4 separate regions of the Homo sapiens genome follow, and regions 2, 3 and 4 are each linked to region 1. The links are contacts of gene promoters, found by promoter capture Hi-C in blood cells and fetal thymus (Javierre and others, 2016). All regions are on one chromosome and are shown on one strand. The core of a region is centred on a gene start or on the middle of the fragment in contact, and the rest is flanking DNA. Distances in the headings are between cores, read along the strand shown.

Region 1 (2,700 bases), core at 12-2,511:
TCCATGGCCCTCCAGGCTAGTTTAGGTGGTACTCACCACAACAGTAATTTTAGAGCTATTTATAAATTATTTAATTCCTGTGTCTCCCTGGATAGAGATAATGCCCTCCTGTTCATCCCTGCCTAAGAATCACCTAAAGCAAAACTTGGCATAGAAAAGGTGCTCAGGAAGTTTTTGTTGATGACCACAGGAGTGCTTAGCCCTTACCACATTACATAAAATCTGCAGTTTACCTGGTTTCTCTCACACCAGTCTGTGAGTTTCCAGAAAAAACTCACAGCCTGTGAGTACAGGATCCAGCTCCATGTTTGACATTTCATGGGCTCAACAGGGGTTTTCTGAGCAGGGGGAGACATTGTGATGTGCTGCCCAGATCCCCCATCACTGAGGACTTAGGACAGACACCAGCTGCTAGGAGTGCTGTTAGCACAAAGCCTTTAATGTCAGCTTCTCCACAGACAGGGCCATCTTGGCCCTTGTTGCCCCACTTGCCAGGTGGCCCCACATCCAAGGACTGATAAAGGCAGGATGACCTGGCCATCTTAGCTCATCTGATGGGCTACTCTAGCTCTAGAGTCCCTGTCGAGTCAGCTAAAACTGTCTTGGGGCCTGCATGGAGCTCACTACTTTCCCCCTGTGCCACTCCTGTTCCCTCCCATCCTTCCCACGCCTGTTGATCCCAAGGGTGCTCCCTCATAAACATCCTGCACTCCAATCTCCATCTCAGAATCTGCTTCCAGGAACCTAACCTGCAACAGGCCCACGGTCCTCTCTTCTTCTCCCAGCCATCACTTTCAGGGAACATGCATTCATTCACCTGAAGTTTGCAGGCACCATTCAACTGTTAAAGTGTTTCGCATCCGTTTTTCTATTACTTCCATCCTATACCGACTAGCTCCACTTAACATGTGGAGAAACTGAGGTCGGAGTGGGGGCGTGACCAGGCCAGCCTAAGGCCGCTGCACTAATGAGAAGCTGAGCTCTCAGATTTTTGCCTCCCTGTCCCTGCCAAGTCGCTGTTTCCTGGGACAAGAGGGAGCCTCACTGAAACGAACTCCGGTCTCAGGGGACAGAATCCTGAAACCCTGGCTCTGGGGTCCGGGGCAGGGGTGCGCTGCCTCAGGACAGACGGTGAAACTGAGGTCCAGAGCCGGACATCCACCGCCTGCGGAGGGAACGAGAACGCGGCGCGTCCTGCCTTGCGGGCCGAGCGGCGCCAGAGCCGCCTCCTCCCGCCCCCCGCGCTAGATCCCCCCGCCCCGTCTTTGCCCTCGCGACGCCGCCACCTCCGGAACAAGCCATGGTGGCGGCGACGGTGGCAGCGGCGTGGCTGCTCCTGTGGGCTGCGGCCTGCGCGCAGCAGGAGCAGGACTTCTACGACTTCAAGGCGGTCAACATCCGGGGCAAACTGGTGTCGCTGGAGAAGTACCGCGGATCGGTGAGTGCGCGGGGTCTGGCGGCGCCGCTGGGCCCGGCCTCGCCCTGGCGGGGCCTGCTGGGGACGCCCCGCAGCCCGGTCCCCCGCGCGGTGTGGCTCCGAGGACGCTCCAGCCGCGCGGCCGCCAAACCCCGGCCCCCGCCCCGCTCGGCCGTGACCTCTGGCGCGGCGCCCCCATCCCGCGCCCGGCCCGGCCCGGCCCGCGGCTACGTGGCACGGCCTTGGCGCGGAGGAACCCGAAGCGCTCGCAGTCGGCGCCCACTTCGCTACCGGCACCTTTGGGCAGCGGGGTCCAGACCTTCGCCGGGAGGCCGGGCACCACTGCCCAGCCTTTGCCATTCACGGGTGAAAAAAGTAACCGTAGCATCGTGCGGCCTTTCCCTCTCCCGTCCTCATTTTCTGCATCTGGAACGGGGAGTGGCTGATTCGGAGTCCAGTGAAGAACACTGTGGAGATCAATGTGCAGGGCAGAGAGAGAGTTATTTCAGATGCACGGAGACCTCACACGGATCATCCCTGGGAGAGGGCACAAAGGCCCAGAGAGGGCAGGCATTCGCACAAGGTCACACTACACTAGAAAGACGGGGCCTGGAAGAGAACCCCACCGCCACATCCGGGGTCCTCTCTAGGCCAAGTCCTTAGATGGCAGCTCAGGGGCACACATAAGAGTCATCCAGGCTAATTGCCCCCTCATTACCAAGAGGGAATCTAAGCTCAGAGAAGACTTCGGAGAGGAAGGGTATCTGGGTTGAGTCTTTGAATACGAGTGGATTTTAGCAAGACTAAGAAGCAAACAGCAAGAAGGGGGTGGGGGGGCGCGGGGCCAGGAGTTCCAGCTGTTGTGCTTCAAAGAGTCTAAAGCTGGAGGCTACGAGTGGTGGAAGATGAGGCTGAAACGACTGGCAAGGGAGCAGGCGGGACCTTGAACACTACATTGAGAGGCCTGCATGTCACATTATGTGCAGTGAAGAACTCCCAGAGTGGACCTCTTCAGGATGGACCTGGGGACTGGTGTGAAATGGCTGGGGAGTTGAAATCTAATGAACAGGTGGGCCAGCGTCCAGTTTTGGATGAACCACACAAAAATAGATGTCAACATTTTTCTCCTGGGAGCAACACCATCTTTAGTGAAGACCAGTACTCTATAAGCCTTGAAATTTTCGATTATGCTGGGAGTCTTGGGGACAGTAATCCCTGCTTGATTGTCCCCCAGAGTGTCGTGAGTTTCAAATCAGATGAAGGCGTGGATGCACTTAGTAAAC
Region 2 (2,700 bases), core at 131-2,630, 95 kb before region 1:
TCTGCCTACCTCAGCCTCCCAAAGTGCTGGGATTACAGGCATGATCCACCGCACCTGGCTGTGCTTAGACTTTTTATCAAAGCATTTTTGAAAACGCTTTTTCAGCATCTACTGAGATAATCACATAGTTTTCTCTGTTTGCTAACATGGTAAATCACAATGAGCGGGGTTTTTTTTGTTTTTGTTGTTTTTTGAGATGAAGTCTTGCTCTGTTGCCCAGGCTGGAGTGCAGTGGCACGATCTGAGCTTACTGCAACCTCAACTTTCTGGGTTCAGCCTCCCAAGTAGCTGGGATTTCAGGCATGAGCCACGATGCCCAGCTAATTTTTGTATTTTTAGTAGAGACGGGGTTCACCATGTTGGCCAGGCTGGTCTCGAACTCCTAACCTCAGGTGATCCGCCCTCCTCAGCCTCCCAAAGTGCTAGGATTACAGGCCTGAGCTACTGCGCCTGGCCAATGAGGGATTTTTTAATGTAAAACTAACACTGCACTCCTGGAATAAAGCCCCACTTGATCATGACACATTCATTCCTCTAATATGCTGTTGGATTCAATTGGCTAAAGTTATATTTAGAATTTCTGCATCTATGTTCATGAGGAGTTTTGGCCTAAAGTTTTCTTTCTTTTTTTTTCTCCCGTCGGAGTCAACAAGTTAAGAATAAAGTTTTCCTTTATTGCAATATGTCTCTGGTTTGAATATCAGAGTTACGTGGACCTCATATTCACAGACTGAACTGGGAAGTATTTCTCCTCTTCAGTGTTCTGGAAAAATTTGTACAGAACAAGTACATGTATATTGATCAATTATCCAGAGCTCATTAACTTTTTTCTTTTTGTTTAATTTTTTCTTTCTGTGTTTCACTCTGGTGGTTTCCACTGCTTATCTTCAAGAGTTCACTAACCTTTTCTTTTGCAATGTTTGATGTACTATTATTCCTACCCAATATAGTTTTAATCTTAGATGTCGTAGTTTTCGTTTCTAATAGTCCTGTTCATATCTTTTTTATATTTTCCATGTCTCTACTTCATCTCTGAAACATCAAGAATACAGTTATATTAACTGTCTTACTGTCCTTCTCTGCTAATCCTAACAAAGGCGTCAGTTCAAGGTCAGTTATTATAGCTGACTTTTCTCTTCATCATGATTTGTATTTTCCTGCCTCTTTGCATACCTGATAATCTTTGACTAAATGCTACATTATGTGAACTTTTTTCAGTGATGAGTATTTTTGTATTTCTGTAATATTCCTAAGCTTTGTTCTGTAATGACATTAAATACTTGGAAACCATTTATCATTTTGAATGTTGCCTTTAAAATATTTTATGTAGGACCAGACCACATTTAGTTTAGGGCTAAATATCCCTACTACTGAAACAAGATTCTTCTGAGTACTCTACCCAGTGTCCCATGAAGCACGAGGCTTTCCAGTCTGGATAGGAAGAAGTCCTGTATGAGCACCAATCACTGGTCTAATTTCCTCTGACAATTCTTTCCCTGGGTTCAGGAAGCTTTTTCATATGCATGCACCAATCAGCATTGTGCTGAATACTTTAAGAGGATCATCCACAGTTCTCTGGATTTCTTTTTGTGCAGTTTTCTCATTTTAGTTACACTGTCCTGTGAATTTTAGCTATCTTGGACTTAGTGCACTCTAAGGTCTCTCTCTTCAACTGTGAGAGTCCACTGGGTTCCCTTCCCTATAGTGCAACCTAGAAACTCTCAAGCTGGAGCCAACATTGGGCTCAGGCCATTTGTTTTTCATTCATTGACTCTGTCGCCTGAAAACCACTGCTTCATATTTCTGTATTTTTTTTTTGTTTGTCATTTCAAGGGAAAAGTAAATCCACTGTTACTCTAACTTCACCAAAAGTATACGTCCTATATGGCTGCATTCAAGTTTGCTTTCTTTTTGTTCATTTCTATAATGTTCTAAAGTTTCCCTATACGGGCTGAGCATCCCTAATCTGAAAATCCAAAATGTGAAATGCTCCAAAATCTGAAGCTTTTAGAACACCAACATGATGCTCAAAGGAAATGCTCATTAAAGTATAATGCAAATATTCCAAAATCTGAAAAAATCCAAAATACTTTGGTCCCAAGCATTTAGGATAAGGTATACTCAATCTGTAATGTGTATAGGTATAGTTTTCCTTTTTCTTTTTTTTGTGATAGAGTCTCGCTCCCTCGCCCAGACTAAAGTGAAGTGGTGTGACCTTGGCTCACTGCAGCCTCCACCTCATGAGTTCAAACAATTCTTATACCTCAGCCTCCCAAGAAGCTGGGATTACAGGCACATGCCACCATGCCCAGCTAATTTTTATGTATTTTTAGTAGAAACAGGGTTTTGCCACGTTGCCCAGGCTGGTCTCAAACTCCTGGGCTCAAGCAACTCACCTGCCTCAGCCTCCCAAAGTGCTGGGATTACAGACCTTAGCCACTGCACCCAGCCTAGGTATGATTTTCTTTTTAAGTTTCTTGCTTGCCCAGGTGAAACCCCGTCTCTATTAAAAATACAAAAATCAGCCAGGCATGGTATGCCTGTAATCCTAGCTACCTGGGAGGCTGAGGCAGGGTAATCGCTTAAACCTGGGAGGCAGAGGTTACAGTGAGCCAAGATTGCACCACTGAACTCCAGCCTGGAAGACAGAGTGAGACTCTGTCTCCAAAAAAAAAAAAAAAAAGGTTTCTTGCTTGCAAG
Region 3 (2,700 bases), core at 174-2,673, 74 kb before region 1:
GGGCAACAAGAAGGAACGAAACTCCATCTCAAAGATGGAGAATCCCAATCTTTATGTGCTATAAATGAATCCGTTTATGGAATCCTAAATGGTAAAATCTTGCCCACAAGACTTTACCACCAACTAGCATCTATTTGTACCTCTAGCCTACCTCGAACTTACCTCAAACTTGACTCTCTAAATATGGGAAAACAATAGACTTTCTCCACCTTGAAGTAAAAACGGGTTCAAATGAATTCGCTGAAGTATACTTTAAAAACCAACAGGGGCCGGGTGCAATGGCTCATGCCTGTAATCCCAACACTTTGGGAGGCCAAGGCGGGCGGATCACGAGGTCAGGAGTTCAAGACCAGCCTGACCAACATAGTGAAACCCTGTCTCTACTAAAAACACAAATATCAGCTGGGCGTGGTGGCACATGCCTGTAATCCCAGCTACTCGGGAGGCTGAGGCAGGAGAATTGCTTGAACCGGGACCCAGGAGGCGGAGGTTGCAGTGAGCCAAGATCGCACCACTGCACTCCAGCCTGGGCCACAGAGTAAGACTCTGTCTCAAAAACAACAACAACAAAAAGGAACTTAAGAGTTTAAAAAAAAACAAAAGTAATAGTAATAATCTCTATGACACTATAATAGTGAATATCTGTCATTACACATTTGTATAATGATACAAAATGCACATTACCAAGAATGAACCCTAAAGTAAACTATAGACACTGGGTGATAAGGTATCAATGCGGGCCAATGTAGGTTCATCCACTGTAATAAACATGCTACTCTGGTGCCAGATGTTGAAAGTGGGGGAGGCTATGCATGTGTGGATGCAGGGTATATATGGCAACTTTGCACTTTCTGCTCAATTTTGCTGTGAACCTAAAAGTGTTCTAAAAAATAATGTCAGCCAGGCATGGTGCCTCACGCCTGTAATCCCAGCACTTTGGGAGGCCGAGGTGGGCAGATCACAAGGTCAGGAGTTCGAGACCAGCCTGGCCAACATGGTGAAACCCCGTCTCTACTAAAAATACAAAAATTAGCCGGGTACAGTGGTGGGCGCCTGTAAAATCCTACCTATTTAAGAGGCTGAGGCGGGAGAATTGCTTGAACCCGGGAAGCGGAAGTTGCAGTGAACTGAGATCGCGCCACAGCACTCCAGCCTGGGTGACAGAGCAAGACTCCATCTCGAAAAAAATAATAATAATAATAATAATAATGTCAAGGCCAGGCACATGGCTCACACCTGTAATCCCAACATTTTGGGAGGCCGAGGCTGGCGGATTGAGTCCAGGAGTTCAAGACCAGCCTGGACAACATGGTGAAACCCCATCTTTACAAAGAAAACAAAAATTAGCCGGCCACTGTGGCATGCGCCTGTAGTCCCAGCTACTTAGGAGGCTGAGGTGGGAGGATCGCTTGAGACCAGGAGGCAGAGGTTGCGGTGAGCCAAGATTGCATTCCTGCATTCCAGTCTGGGCAACAGAGTGAGACCCTGTCTCAAAAAAAAAAAAAAAAAGTGATTTTATTAAAAAATCAGGATGTTTTTTACTATTCACTTTGCCCTATACACCTTAAATTCAGATCCGTTTCTAAACAAACATTAATAATATGAATAAAAATTAGAGTCCTTCTGCCAGCAAAAGCAAACTGCATAGAATTAAAATGTACCATCTTTGATTTTACTTGGTTGATTTACTAAATTACAAATTTAGGTAAACATCTCTATCATATAACTTTACATCATATAAACAAAAAAATCCTACCTAAAATAAAGAGTTCACTCTTTAATAATCACTCACTGCAGCCTGGAACTCCTGGGCTCAAATGATCCTCCTGCCTCAGCCTCCCAAGCAACTAAGAACACAGGCGCACACCACCACACCTGGCTAATTTTTTTTTGTTGTAGAGACAAAGTCTCACTATGTTGCTCAGGCTTGTCTCAAACTCATGGCCTCAAGTGACCCTCCCATCTCAGTCTCCCAAAGCACTGGGATTACAGGAATGAGCCACCACACTTGGCCAATAATTCTTCTTTATAGTGCAGTCCTCTACATTCTCTGCCTTGCTTTTCCAGAGTAATACTGTCTTTTACTTTAAAAATGTATTAGGTTCTTCTTTCTAAATTATTATAATGAAAACTAAAGTCAAAACCACACTAGATATGGTGTCAGTTGGAGTCTAGCAAAGTATATTTAAAAATTTTTTAATTAAAAAAAATTTTAAACCACACTACATTTTCACCATTAATATTTTGACTAACATTTTCCAGTAAAAGCTATAGAAACTTACAACTGCAAAAGAATGCTTTTGCTCCTAATTTTTATACATATGAATTTGTTTAATTAATACATTTTGCTTTTATTATTCTTGATAAGGTGTTTTACATAACTGTCAGAAAAGTTGTCAAAACATATGACTATTTCTAAATTCTTGTGAGAACTGCTGCAGGTTCCTCACTTTAACAACTAAAATGAGCTCTGTTTCAAAAATTAAAATGAGTTATATTTCTAAAAGATTAGTTTTACCTTGTCTAGTAACCAAAATATCTTTAAATTTTTAATGCTAGTCTGCTATAACGATTCTTTAATAATTTTGTAGATGTCATCTGACAAAAGCCATAAAACAACAAAGATTTGAAATAACAATGCTGATTCACAATTTTGCTTGTAAAACATTTTAGACAATTTATTCATCCACTTAAAAAATA
Region 4 (2,700 bases), core at 123-2,622, 110 kb before region 1:
GAGAATATAGCATGACAATTAAAAATTCTAAAATATATCCATAAGTGTGTCTACAAAAATTTATTTTTATGTCCATAAATTACAACCTGCCACACCAACTTTCTGTCTAGCACAGAAAACTACTTTCTCCCACATGTTATGATTGATGTTACATGTCAGTACAAGAAAAGGCCTAATTTTGAAGATTAAATACATTTCCTTCTAAAAATATAAATAAGTAGTTTTCCTCTCTTTCACTTACCTTAGCCCAGTAGCGAAAGGCTAACACCAAGGGAATAAAGACAGGTTCTATTTTGCCAAGGGCAGTAAGTAAATCAGTAGTGAGACATGCCATATCGTTTCCTGCACTCACTCTACAAAGTAAACCACTGTGAATGAGAAAGAAACAAATTTCATTGTATTAATACCCTTAAAAGCAGAATACTTCAAATCCTGTGGCTATTTTCTTTCTAGTTATCATATTGTAACATAGTACCGTAAAAGCCCTAATAAAAACAAATGTTTTAATAAATTTAGAGCTAACTGAAAACTACATGTCATTCCATAACTAGAGTTCCATACGAATTAAAGAAAGATGTTTTTAACATTCATTTGTACTTCAGAAATAAATTTCAACCAAACTTAGTATTTAAGTTAATGAGAAATTAATTTCAAAAGCAGCATTATGAATTATCAAAACTGATATACATGAGAGACAGGGCACTGATCTCTTCAATGTCAAATAGTGCAAGGTAATTTCCTAGTTCAATCCTCTTGCTTTCTACATGATAATAGCAAAAAATGAATACTTAACTGACTGGCTATACTTCTTGACTCTAATTTTTCCTATCCAAGCTTTCACAATTGTACTAATATGTTATTTTCAGAGTAAAGATTAGACAGGATTTGCAGATTAACCCACAAATTATACTTCTGTGTAAGTGAAAATAGCAGCAACCTTAAATGGGATGACAGAAGTGTAGTGAAGATATTTTGAAAGCAGGGAGAAGAATAAATCTGAGGTGTCACACACAGGCAATTTAACACAATGTGGCAGAAAAAACACTAAAGGTCACTTTGCCTCCATTTTCCAATTATAGTTTCCCCCTCAATGATGTGAATCTAGACAAACTGATAAACCACTCCAGGTCCCATTTTTCTAGTTTAGAAAATAAATCTGAACTAGATCGCCATAGACTCATCTAGCTTTGAATAAGAAAATACCTTGATCTTAAAATATAATACAAGTTAATAATCAATAAAAGAATATCATTTCTGTATTGTTTCCATGTCTCCCACACTACTTTCAAATAGGATTTAGTTTCTGCTTTCAAAGGCACTTTGATCTCTTAGACTTATAGACATCTAACTAGAAAGGCAAGATCAGTCTTCAATTTAGGACTGATCTTGAGTTTATTCAATTTAAATCAACTCATTCAATGTAAGTGAAATAAAAACTAAACTCTAAATTCTAATGGATTGTGAGATCCTTGAGAAGAGAGGCTTTTTTTTTTTTTTTTTTGAGACAGGGTCTCACTCTGTCACCCAGGCTGGAGTGCAGTGGCACAATCACGGCTCACTGCAGCCTCAACCTCCCAGGCTCAGGCCATCCTCCCACCTCAGCCTCCCGAGTAGCTGGGACCACAGGCACACACACCCACCATGCCTGGCTGATTTTTTTATTTTTTTTGTGGAGACAAGGTCTCACTATGTTGCCCAGGCTAGTCTTGAATTCCTGGGCTCAAGTGACTGAAGAGAGGCTATTTCTTCTTTATGTCTGTATCCATAGAGCAAAGTAGTACCTGCATATAAGTAAATGCAATACTCTTGGGTGAGTGAATGACTTGAAAAAAAAAAAATTGAAGTTTTGCCTAGAGTATTTTATTTTCAACTGTCTGATGTTCTATATATTTCTTGTTCACATGCATTTGGTAAGCTTGCTATTTTTAATGAATAGAAACTAGCTTAGTCATATTCATCCAAGGAGAAATCTAAAACAAAAACTTTTTCTCTTAAAGATCATTCACTACAAATTTGGTTGTTGGGGTTTGTTTTTTTAAATATTTTATCTTCATTGTTACCAACCTTTTTCGATCTCTGCACACCACAACAGGAACTTTAGCGTGAAAATCAGATTCCACATCTACATATAATACTAATAAGGAAAAAAAAAAGTAAGCTAATGTCAACATCTCTAAAATACGTACTCTACAGTAAACATTAAGTAACAGTTTCCTTCTGAAAATTATTCTCATTGCTTCTGTGGGATAATCCACTCTTCTCATTATGAGCACCAACCCAGCGAAATCTCTTACCTCTCCTGGTGTCATTTGCTGTATATCACAAACCACAGGTACAGCCCCAAATACTGTCCAAAAATTATAATCACCTTAAGAAAGGTCTTAACATCCCTAAAAGTTTTAATATTTCCAAGTAAGTAGATAATCTAGTCAAAGTTGTTAAACCTTCATAGATAACAGCAAAGAGAGGACACCCCTTACTCCTGAGAGCTAGTTCCACAGGAGCCATGAAAGGAGGACCTATCATGCTTTGACAGTTTAGTTCTTTTAAATTACCAATGTAATTACAACCTAACTCTTCAGGCCACATTTCCCGTTAGTATATGAAGAGTTTGCCTAATCAAAGCTGCTAAGGAAGGACTAACCGGATGAAGCACATTTCTACCCTGAAATCTTTCTCTGTATCTCCAAGGGTAAGCCC

The links. Contacts are between HindIII fragments. The CHiCAGO score rates a contact against its expected background, and 5 or more counts as called.
Region 2: a contact is called between a fragment that was not itself captured here and the fragment with the promoter of GPX7 in region 1, in 3 of 17 cell types (naive B cells, total B cells and total CD8 T cells). The highest score is 6.1, in naive B cells.
Region 3: a contact is called between a fragment that was not itself captured here and the fragment with the promoter of GPX7 in region 1, in 1 of 17 cell types (total B cells). The highest score is 5.5, in total B cells.
Region 4: a fragment that was not itself captured here is called in contact with the fragment with the promoter of GPX7 in region 1 in 2 of 17 cell types (naive B cells and total B cells); the score reaches 5.6 in naive B cells.

What each region holds. Positions count from the first base shown.
Region 1 is chr1:52,601,110-52,603,809 of GRCh38, forward strand. GPX7 (glutathione peroxidase 7) reads left to right here and starts at 1,262. Exons shown (of 3, transcript NM_015696.5): 1 at 1,262-1,438. The coding sequence starts at 1,301. The HindIII fragment of the contact is 11,376 bases long and covers 1-2,700 here.
Region 2 is chr1:52,505,662-52,508,361 of GRCh38, forward strand. All of the region lies in intron 4 of TUT4 (terminal uridylyl transferase 4), which reads right to left. Among named protein-coding and RNA genes, the nearest start is that of TUT4, 46 kb to the right of the region's middle. The HindIII fragment of the contact is 256 bases long and covers 1,253-1,508 here.
Region 3 is chr1:52,526,999-52,529,698 of GRCh38, forward strand. All of the region lies in intron 1 of TUT4 (terminal uridylyl transferase 4), which reads right to left. Among named protein-coding and RNA genes, the nearest start is that of TUT4, 25 kb to the right of the region's middle. The HindIII fragment of the contact is 6,606 bases long and covers 1-2,700 here.
Region 4 is chr1:52,488,668-52,491,367 of GRCh38, forward strand. It overlaps TUT4 (terminal uridylyl transferase 4), which reads right to left. Exons shown (of 30, transcript NM_001009881.3): 8 at 2,065-2,134; 9 at 242-368. Among named protein-coding and RNA genes, the nearest start is that of TUT4, 63 kb to the right of the region's middle. The HindIII fragment of the contact is 1,081 bases long and covers 833-1,913 here.